Regions from separate parts of the Homo sapiens genome. Here region 2 is linked to region 1. Evidence: promoter capture Hi-C in 16 types of primary human blood cells and fetal thymus (Javierre and others, 2016). All regions are on one chromosome and are shown on one strand. The core of a region is centred on a gene start or on the middle of the fragment in contact, and the rest is flanking DNA. Distances in the headings are between cores, read along the strand shown.

Region 1 (5,016 bases), core at 443-2,942:
TGGTGGATTGTCATTGATGTCAGAGATCTCAACCTTCAGTGTACGCAGGGATGTGAGCTGCGGTATTCCCCCATCTGTGGCTGTCACCGTGATGTTGTAGACAGCCACCCGCTCTCGGTCCAGTGGGCCGCTCACCACCAGTGTATAGGAGTTTCCAAAGCCATTCAGTCGGAAAGGCAGTGTGGCCTCCAGACCCAGGCTCACTTTCCGGTTGGGGCCTGAGTCTTGGTCATTGACACTGAGAACGGCCACAATGGTGTTGGGTGTAGCATTCTCAGGCACTGGGCTATACAGGTCCGTGAGCACCACCTCTGGGGCATTGTCATTCACGTCCACGATGTCCACCAGCACCTTGCAGTGACCTGCCATGGGCACTGGACCCCGGTCAGTCGCCTGCACATAGATCTGGTAGGAGGAGGCTTCCTCATAATCCAGCCCCCCAATTACTCGCACTTCCCCGGTACTGGCATCTATGCTGAAGAGCTGCCTCTCCCGGTCCGACGTGTAGCTGCTCAAGGAGTACCTGAGCTCACCATTGGAGCCCTCATCCGGGTCTGAGGCATTCAGCTTCACCACCAATGTGCCTGGGGGTGAGTCCTCCCGTAGCTGGACGCGATAAGTGGACTGGTCAAAGGCAGGAGAGTTGTCGTTAGTGTCCAGGACACGCACAGAGATCTGTGCCGTACCCGAGCGGGCTGGGATGCCCCCATCCACGGCTGTGAGAACCAGGTGGTGCAAGGCTGCCTGCTCCCGGTCTAGGCCCTTACGCAGCACCAGCTCAAGCACTTTACTGTTCTCCTGCAGGGGCTTAAGGTCCAGCTCGAAGTGCTCGCTGGGGCTGAGCTCGTAGGTCTGTACTGAGTTGGCGCCCACGTCGGGGTCCTGCGCACTCTCTATGTGAAAGCGCGCTCCAGGCGCCACCGATTCGCTTACCTGAAGCTGGTAGTTGGGCCGCGGGAAACGCGGTGAGTTGTCGTTGATGTCCAATATTTCCACCTCAACGGCGCTCACCGCCACGGGGTTGTGCGCCAGCACTTCCAAGCTGAGCAGGCAGCGAGGCCGCTGCTCACACAGCGCCTCCCGATCAATGCGCTCGTTGACGAAGAGCGCTCCACTCGTCAGGTCCAGCTCCAGGTAGCGCGGACTGGGCGCACCCAGATGGTTGATGCGCAAGCAACCCGGCCCCAAGCGCCGCAGCTCAAGCCCCAGCGCGCGAGCCACGTTGCCCACGAGCGCGCCGGGTGCCTGCTCCTCTGGCACAGAGTATCGCAGCTGGGAGGCCGCAGGGCCAGGTAGCAGCAGCAGCAACAGCAGCAGGAGAGGCAGTAGCAGCAGCCAGGGCATGGGCCGCCGGAGCCGTGGATGCTCTGTCGCCGCAGGTCTGGTGCCCGCCTGCTCCATAGCCACTGGCCGCGGCGGAGGCAGCCGGGCAGGGCCGGAGGCGGCAGCTTCCCCAGCCGTGCCCCACGCCCGGGCCCCGCCTCCGCTCGTGCCACCCTGCGCCTGCTCCCCCACCGCTCACGCTCTAGAAAGCGCCTGGGGCCGCTCCCTCCGTAGGCCCTCCCAAGGGCTCCTGGCCCCACCGTCCTCGCTGACTCCCCATATTCCAGCTCCTCCGCTCGCCTCCGAGTCGCTCAACCCGGCTCGGCTTCCTGCTGCTGCTGCCGCTACAGCTCCAGGGGGAGGGAAAAGGAAACAGAAGGGAAGACAGAGGGGGAGGGGGAAAGGGAGCGGTAGGAGGGCTCAGCAAGTCCTGCTCTGATTCCGCGCCGAAGTGGCGGACAGCGAACCCGGACTGCTCAGCCTCTCCAGCCCCATCTCCTTCACCCTGGACCTGCCGGATCCCAGCGGACCGCAGGAACACGGCCACTCCCTTTCTCCCTACCCCCACTGTCCAGTTCATCCAGTCTCCACCGTCTCTCCCCTGCTTAACGGGTCTTTAAGGAGATTAGTCTGGGAAAAGCAGTCAAGCCCCTAGAAGTCTGGCTATCAGCTCCCCAGGAAAAGATCTCCAAGCGCAATTCAGGAAAATAAACTGAGGGGCCTTAGCTAAGTATGGGCACCCAGGCGGCGGATCTAACATTAAAAGGAAACAACGCAGGGGGAGGCGCTCTGGGGTTACTGGCGATGGGAACTATTCACCTGACTCCCACATCTTCCCTGGACACTCTTAAGTACTGCAGAAAGTGCTCAACTCCTAGGGCAAAAGGAGGGGGATGGCAAATGCTGCCCTCTTTCCGGGAGCAAGCCTAAAACCAGCATCCTGGGATCCAAGACTCAATTCTGCTCTCGGCCAAGTGGCCCTTATTTTCAGTGTGTGCCTTGGCAAATAACCAATATTTAAATGTTTAAAATGCTCTGTTTAAAAAAATAGTCTCCATGAAGCTGTAGGCAAATCTATTATTTGACCCATTTTGGCGACAATGGGGAAAATCTGGTAAAATTTTTAAAGAGATTCTTCTCTCAAGCTTTTTCTAATCTTGCTTCAAATCTTTTACATTTATCACCCAAGACATTTTCTTTCAAGAGTAATTTAAAATTTTTTCTTTAATGGATGACAATGTCTTCAAGAGTCTGCAAAACCATTAAATCAAGAGCGTTACTGTTGATCTCCTAAGCCAGGCTGGAATTTGGATTCCATTAATGCTTTGCAGTTAAAAAAAAAAAAAAATCTGCTGTCATTAAGCAAAATGTGGGAGTCTGGGATTTATCTTACAATAACCAGCAATTTCAATGACTGCAGCTTATCTTCCTTAAATATAAGACTCCTTAGACTTCTGTTCTTCTGTGTCCCCAAGTTTCCTCTTGTACTGCTATAGAGGCAACACAGAGACAACAAATTCACTTCAGTAAAAGAGAAGGTAGAAGGATCAGAGGAAATCTTTCCATGCTGTGTCATTGCCTCTGCTGCTCAGTTCTGAATATTCACTCTTCCCAGGTTCTCACATTTCTTCCACAGGAATTTGAAATCTATTGCCTCATGTGCAAAAAAAGCACTCACTAAAACGTCCTTTCTCTTCATCTCCCAGTATTCTGTCATCTGTAGATCTTCCTCTATGGGTCATTTTCTAGCTATGGACTGGAACAAAGTCAGAGTGAGACCTGACATTTGGCATGCTTCCCTCCTAGAGCGGACAGTTAAAGGAGCCAAGGTTGTGATCCTGACACCCAGAATTCAAAGGCCTGAACTAGCACATCCCTTCGTTCCACCAACCAAGCACACTCACTATCAATGCTCCACTACCTAGCCAGTGTTATTCCAGAGAAGCGCCCAGCCTCCTATCACTGCTGCTTCTTATTTGTCCTCTTTGTTTCCTCAAGGGTACAGAGTAGGAAGCAATTTTCATCAAAATCTATTCCTGTCTCCTTTCTTGGGTCTCTGGCTTCTTCCTCTTCTCTCTGCATCCTCCCCAAACATCCCTACAATAATTCTGTCTCAGTTTGCTGTGGTAATTTGATCTCGGAGGCCTTAATCTCTCAAGTGCACAAATTGTGGACCTGGCCTGTGTCCTCACCCATTACTTGTTTCTGAAAATAAATGGCTTATAAGTGGAATCAAGTTGTAAGTTGTCATGAAAAGTGATCTTTCCTCCCCTTATCTCCTCCCAGCCCTCCAAGTCGCTGCCATCTCTGCACGCAGCTCAGAGACCTGGCCACTGGGTATTGACCAGGCATAGACCTGTGACTGTGAAAAAATCATAGGCACTTAAGGAAGAGATTACAGTGGCAGAGGCTTGGTAATTTTTTAATGGAAGCCCCCAAATGTCATGTCTTGGGAGAAAAACCAGGACTCTCCTTTCAGCACTCTTGTCATCTTCCAGCAAGGACACCTGCCAGGTTGTCCATTATGCTGTTTTAGGCCTTGTAGGTATTTAGCTCCAGCTAGAATTTACTGCCTTAATTATTAAGGAGTCAAATATAAAGCCAACACAATCAGCCTCATTTTGAAAGACATTGTACTAAAGAGATGGTATACTCTATTTGGCACTATAATGATTTCGTTCCTCACACCATTATACTGAGGCTCCTGCCAACCTTACTAGTTGTTAGAATGTGATTGCTCAGACTGTTGTTAATTACCCTTTCTACAAATATTAACACTAATGCCTTGACCACACCATTATGCATTCCTTTCCTTGGACCTTCAAGAGCTCTCTATTAAAAAGTAGAACACAGTAATTAGGAATATAGACTTTGGAGTCAGTCACACTCCTGCCAGTGACTAACTGTTTGGCTATGGACATGTTACTTAGCCTAAGCTTCACTTTACTCATTTTAATTAAGGAAAACAATAGTAAGCAAAACTCATACGGTTATTATTATGATTACATGAGAAAATGTATGTAAAGCAATTTGCACAGTGACTAGTTAAGTACATTATTGTTGTTGTTGCTGTCGTCATGAAATACAACAATTTATTATCATCAGATAAAACCTTAGTTGGCAGTCTATATGTAGCATGGCCCTTTAGATATCAAACACGGATAAACACATTTAACTATGCCATATAGGAAATCAACCATGATAGGGAAGATGCGTATGCAACAAAGTTAAGCTTTCCCAATTACGTCTAGAACTATATCCTACATTTTGAGAACAAAACCAGAAAACAGCCCCTTTTTATATCATGAAGTAAATGGGACTTCTGTTATGAGAACCCCTTCAAGAGATTTGTTTCCTCACAAGAGATTTACCTTTTTAGAAAACACAGAAATACTTTAGCAACAGAGTATGAAGTTAGTTCCTAAACATGCTGTAATCTACAGCATCCAGTAGGGAGCTTGGCACAGAGGTGCTCAATTAATGTTCTTTGAAAAGAACTAAATTTACAAATTTATCTGTGTAATTCTAATACAAACAGCTTCTTATTTTCTCTCCTCCTTATAAAATCTTACATACATTTCAAAGTCCAGATGAAAACCTACCTAATCCATCAAACAGTGTCTACTCTAAACACGAGGTTTTTTTTTTCATTTTCACAGTCTACAGCATATCTGTAAGATGGCATGTGTCATT
Region 2 (4,966 bases), core at 751-3,250, 120 kb after region 1:
CCCGTGTACAGCCCCACGCGGAACGGGATGCTCGCGCTGGCCGTTTCTGGCTGCAGCTCGTATGAAAGCCACGCGTTGTAGCCCGAGTCGGCGTCCACTGCGCGCACCTTCCCCACCACTACGCCGGCGCCCACCGACCGCAGCACCATCTCGCTCACTGCGCCGTCAGTGCCCCTCATCCGAGGTGTCAGCAGCGCCGGCGCATTGTCGTTCTCGTCCAGCACGAACACCTGCAGCGTCACGTTGCTGCCCAGAGGCGGCACGCCCGCGTCGCGCGCGCTCACCTGGAACTGTAGCAGCTCCAGCTCCTCGTGGTCCAACGGCTGCAGCGCGTACACCTTGCCGCTCTCCGCGTGCACTGACACGTAGCTCGACAGCGAGCGCTCGCCCAACCGCCGCTCCACCAGCGAGTAGGACACCAGGGCGTTCTCCTGCGCGTCAGCGTCCCGCGCAGACACCGTGAAGATGTGGCAGCCCGGCGGGTTGTTCTCCTTCACGAACACCGTGTACTCGGACTGCGCGAACGCTGGTGCGTTGTCGTTCACGTCGGCCACCTCCACAGACACCCTGGCCGTGGCCCACAGTGAAGGCGAGCCCCCGTCCCGCGCGGTAACCACCAGCTCGTAGGCGGACACACTCTCGCGGTCCAGAGCTCTGTCCAGCACCAACGAGTAGTAATTCTTGTAGGTGGACACCAGCTTGAAGGGGACGTGGGGCGTCAGGGAGCAGGTAACCTGCCCGTTGGCATCTGCGTCTAGGTCGATCACACTAATCAGGGCAATAACTGTCCCCAGTTGTGCGTCCTCTTTTACAGGAACCGAGAGCGTTTTGATAGTCAACTGTGGAGCATTGTCATTTACATCCACAACTTCCACAAGAAGTGTACAATGACCAGCCAGGGGTGGGAAGCCTTTATCGACAGCCTCGACTGGGATCTTGTGTGCTCTACTTTCTTCAAAATCCATATGTCCTATCACTGTGATTGCCCCACTTAAGGGGTCCATGTGGAACTTGGATTTTATATCTGGAGAAACATCACTGGAGAAGGAGTAAATAATATCCCCATTCAAGCCTTCGTCTAAATCTGAGGCATTGGGGTGAATCACCAGCGTTCCGATAGAAACGTTTTCTGGTAATTTCACCGTATACAGGGTTCTGTCGAACACTGGGGCATTGTCATTGTTGTCCAGTACCGTGATGAGTAATTGAACGGTGCCAGTCAGCTCGGGTTTGCCTCCATCGGTGGCCGTGAGCAATAAATGAAGCTCCGGAGTTTCTTCTCTGTCTAAAAGTTTCCGTAATACAAGTCCAAGAGGTTTTACCTGCTGGTTGCTGGTTGGCACGTCCAGGAAGAAATACTCATTGGGGCTCAGTCTGTAAGTGAGCAGGGCGTTCTCCCCGATATCTGCATCGGACGCGCCCTCTAGTGGAAACCGAGAGTCAAGCGGCCTGGATTCCGCGATGAACAGATTCTTTTGTGTCGCTGGGAACACTGGAGGGTTGTCGTTAATGTCCTTCACCTCCACGTCCACATGGAAAACCTGCAGCGGCCTGTCTACGATCACCTCCAGGTGGATGCTGCACTCCGCGCTCCGCCCGCACAGCTCCTCGCGGTCGATCCGAGAATTCACAAACAAAATGCCATTCTGCAGATTTACCTCCAGAAGGTCCCCGCGGCCTTTGGAATCCAACTGGAACAGGCGCGGCACCAGCTCCGCCAGCTCCAGCCCCAGGTCCTGCGCGATGCGGCCCACGAAGGTGCCGTGTTCGGCTTCCTCCGGGACGGAGTAGTGGAGCTGGCCGCTCCCCACCACCCACATTGCGAGGATCAGAAGCGAGAGCAGTAGAGGCTGACCCTCTGGATCTCCTCGACTTGAGTATAACATTTCAAATACTCAGTCTTCTTCTAATTAGTGAAAATTGCCTCCAAATTAGAAGAAATCATCTGATTTCGTCAGTCCCATTCTGCTGTGTTCGCCATCGTTCAGCACAGAGAGAGTGAAAAAGAATTGAGCCTCTTTCCCATGGGAAAAGGGCTGTATTTGTCTGGATTCAGAGAGAACATCGCGGCAAAGAGTGACATCACGTGGCCCAAAGTGTAAGTACATATTTCATGAATAAAAATTTCACAGTTATTCTGCAAAACTTATTTCATTTTCTTAATTTTTTCTTAAGTAATGATTGTTGAAACAGAAGATCCCGTTTCTCTTGCTGGAGCCTTCTTAGCAGACTGACTGCCTCTAAAAGTTTTGTATGACCTTGATTGTGGTTTTCTTATCCCTGAGAAAACTCTCCACTTAAGTTTTAAATAACGACAGAAATGAAGTAACAATTAAAATGATTCCATTGAGCAATCACGAATTTTAAATTACAAAATTCTTTTGTTCTGGAATTCAGAATCTCCCATATGGCTCGAAATAGGATTCTAGTGTAAGAGAAATCCAGGAGTTGCAATCTCTAGTGAATATAGGAGCCCAGAAATCTACTGATGAAAAAGAAACTTAGTCATGTCTGGTAAAAGGAATCAACAAAAAGTAGCAACCAACTGAGGTAGTTTTCTTGAGTAATTCTATGAATTGAAAAGGTATAAAATATTGCAAGAAAAGCGAGAATTGACTTTAAGGTCTTGTGTTGCGTGGGGAGAAAATATATTTTTCTCTTTTGTAGCATTTATACAATCTGTTTCCAGAAATGTGTTGTTTTGATTCTTTCCAAGCTTTATAATCTATGAATAATCTCTTCTTTGTAGTCTCCAATATAGTTTGTGTAATGTTATTACAATATGTTTTAATTTCATTATTGCTCATCCTTAGTACTCGGGGCAATTTCTGTTTTTAAAGCTATGCTTGAGATTCTTTTCCTGACTAAGTTCTACAAAGTTTTGTTGTGAGTTTTACTATCTTATTCCAACGTCCAAGTCGATTAATTAAATCTAGATTTTAGTGTATCTCAAGTCTAAAGGCAAAACCGTGAGTGTTTATTGTGCCATTAATGTTTTTGCATATTTATCTTTTATTTCGTATTTCTACTGATAACAGCCTAAGAGGTGCATTTAACAATTGCTTCTGTCCTTGATTACTGCAGGAGCTTCTGAGTTTGTCTTCCCGTTCAACCTTCTTTCAAAAGTCGTGATTTATTTTGCTCAAGGTAGTTAAATAGCTCCCAATTAATTCTAAAGAGTGGCCAAATTCCTTAATCACTCATGGCCCTTTAGTTTATTACTCAGAAATCAAGAGATCTTCTTACATTGGTTTTCCTGCTTTCATTCTCTGCAGACTGTGTGTTTTAACCAAAGTGGACTTTTCTACTTGTCATATTGATGCTTTCTGTGTCTTCAACTTTCCTTATGTTTTCTCTTTCCAAGAAATGTCTATCATTCTCAATATTCTCCCGGGGGGAACTTACTTATTTTAAAACCACTGAAACACACCATGCCCCTTCAAGTATTTCTTCAAAAATTCAAATAGGAAATGATTGTCTTTCAACTTCAACGTCATTCTGATTTACCTCTTGTACCTGTTACATTATCTTGCCTTGCATTGTGTGACTCATATTCTTTATTTGACCTCAAATTTTAAAGCCAGGGGCTGGGGCTCAGTAATAATTCCTGACATGATGATATGCTGTTAGAGATCTGTAAGGGTCCTATTTAATGTTTAATGAAGACTGGTTATTACAATCTTCTCTACTTGCTAAGAAAGCATTTTAGGCTGGGCGCGGTGGCTCATGCCTGTAATCCCAGCACTTTAGGAGGCCGAAGTGGGCGGATCAGGAGGTCAGGAGATCGAGACCATCCTGGCTAACATGGTGAAACCCCGACTCTACTAAAAATACAAAAAATTAGCAGGGCATGGTGGCATGCACCTGTAATCCCAGCTACTTGGGAGGCTGAGGAAGGAGAATCATTTGAACCCGGGAGGCAGAGGTTGCAGTGAGCCGAGATTGCGCCACTGCATTCCAGCCTGGGAGATAGAGCGAGACTCCGTCTCAAAAAAAAAAAAAAAAAAAGAAAGAAAGAAAAGAAAAGAAAAAAGAGAAAGCACTTTAAAAGGCTATTTACAACACTCTACATAAATGGTTTACTTAATTCATAGAACTACAACATAAATTGACTTTAAATCATCATCAAAACATTATTGTATACTTCTTTTTAAGAAAAATACTATTAATGGAAAGATCTCATACATACAAAGAACTCAAACGCCTACTCAGGCCTCTGCAGGATCTCAGGCAACTTTTAAATATGGGAAACATACAACTATCAAAGTAAGATAGTCTACACATTCCTTGGAAGGACTTTAACCTTTCCAAAAAACTGTTTTCCCACATAGGTGGTGTTAACTTGACTTTCCTAAACTCGTAATAACTTTTAGATTTTTTTCATTCCACCACACAACATTCAAAATATTGAAACATCCTAGGTTAATCTAAAAAATGACTTTACAGAAGATAGTTTTACACAAAAATAAGATTAATATGGAAGGCCATAACGACTTTCTGACATTTTAGGTTGCCTTTCTGCAATCACTAACTTCTTTTCTCTTAAGAATGGTAATAACTAAATTTTATTATGTACCTATCACTTGCCAGAGTTTATTATTAATAATTTATAACTATTAACTTACTTGATACAAATAAATCTATAAAGTAGAATTCACATTTATCATGCATACATATAATGCCAAGGAACTGAATAACAAATCCTTTACCAATGGCTACACATACAAAAATTGGTAAAGGGAGGACTTGATTTAGAGAGCTTCAGAATCCACAATACTTAATAACTAACTTCTGACACATTTCAATCCCAGAAATTCTTAATAGCTAAAAGCATCACCATAATTAGAATAGTGAAAAGTATTAATGTACAAGAAATAGGTTTAGACTTTCTCACTGTGAAAGCACAACCCCAAATTCAAATATCAGAGAGTTGAAGAAAAACAGAACTAAAATGACTTAAATGATA

Evidence for each region. The method cuts DNA at HindIII sites, captures the fragments that hold promoters and counts their contacts. A CHiCAGO score of 5 or more calls a contact.
Region 2: the fragment with the promoter of PCDHA9 here is called in contact with the fragment with the promoter of PCDHAC2 in region 1 in 1 of 17 cell types (neutrophils); the score reaches 7.2 in neutrophils.

Annotation. Positions count from the first base shown.
Region 1 is chr5:140,963,152-140,968,167 of GRCh38, reverse strand. It overlaps PCDHAC2 (protocadherin alpha subfamily C, 2), which reads right to left and starts at 1,692. Exons shown (of 4, transcript NM_018899.6): 1 at 1-1,692. The coding sequence starts at 1,401. All of the region lies in intron 1 of PCDHA1 (protocadherin alpha 1), which reads right to left. The region is part of intron 1 of PCDHA2 (protocadherin alpha 2); the gene reads right to left. All of the region lies in intron 1 of PCDHA3 (protocadherin alpha 3), which reads right to left. It also overlaps PCDHA4, PCDHA5, PCDHA6, PCDHA7, PCDHA8 and PCDHA9, and 6 more genes. The HindIII fragment of the contact is 2,470 bases long and covers 1-2,470 here.
Region 2 is chr5:140,845,416-140,850,381 of GRCh38, reverse strand. PCDHA9 (protocadherin alpha 9) reads right to left here and starts at 2,000. Exons shown (of 4, transcript NM_031857.2): 1 at 1-2,000. The coding sequence starts at 1,886. The region is part of intron 1 of PCDHA1 (protocadherin alpha 1); the gene reads right to left. The region is part of intron 1 of PCDHA2 (protocadherin alpha 2); the gene reads right to left. The region is part of intron 1 of PCDHA3 (protocadherin alpha 3); the gene reads right to left. It also overlaps PCDHA4, PCDHA5, PCDHA6, PCDHA7, PCDHA8 and PCDHA@. The HindIII fragment of the contact is 21,410 bases long and covers 1-2,718 here.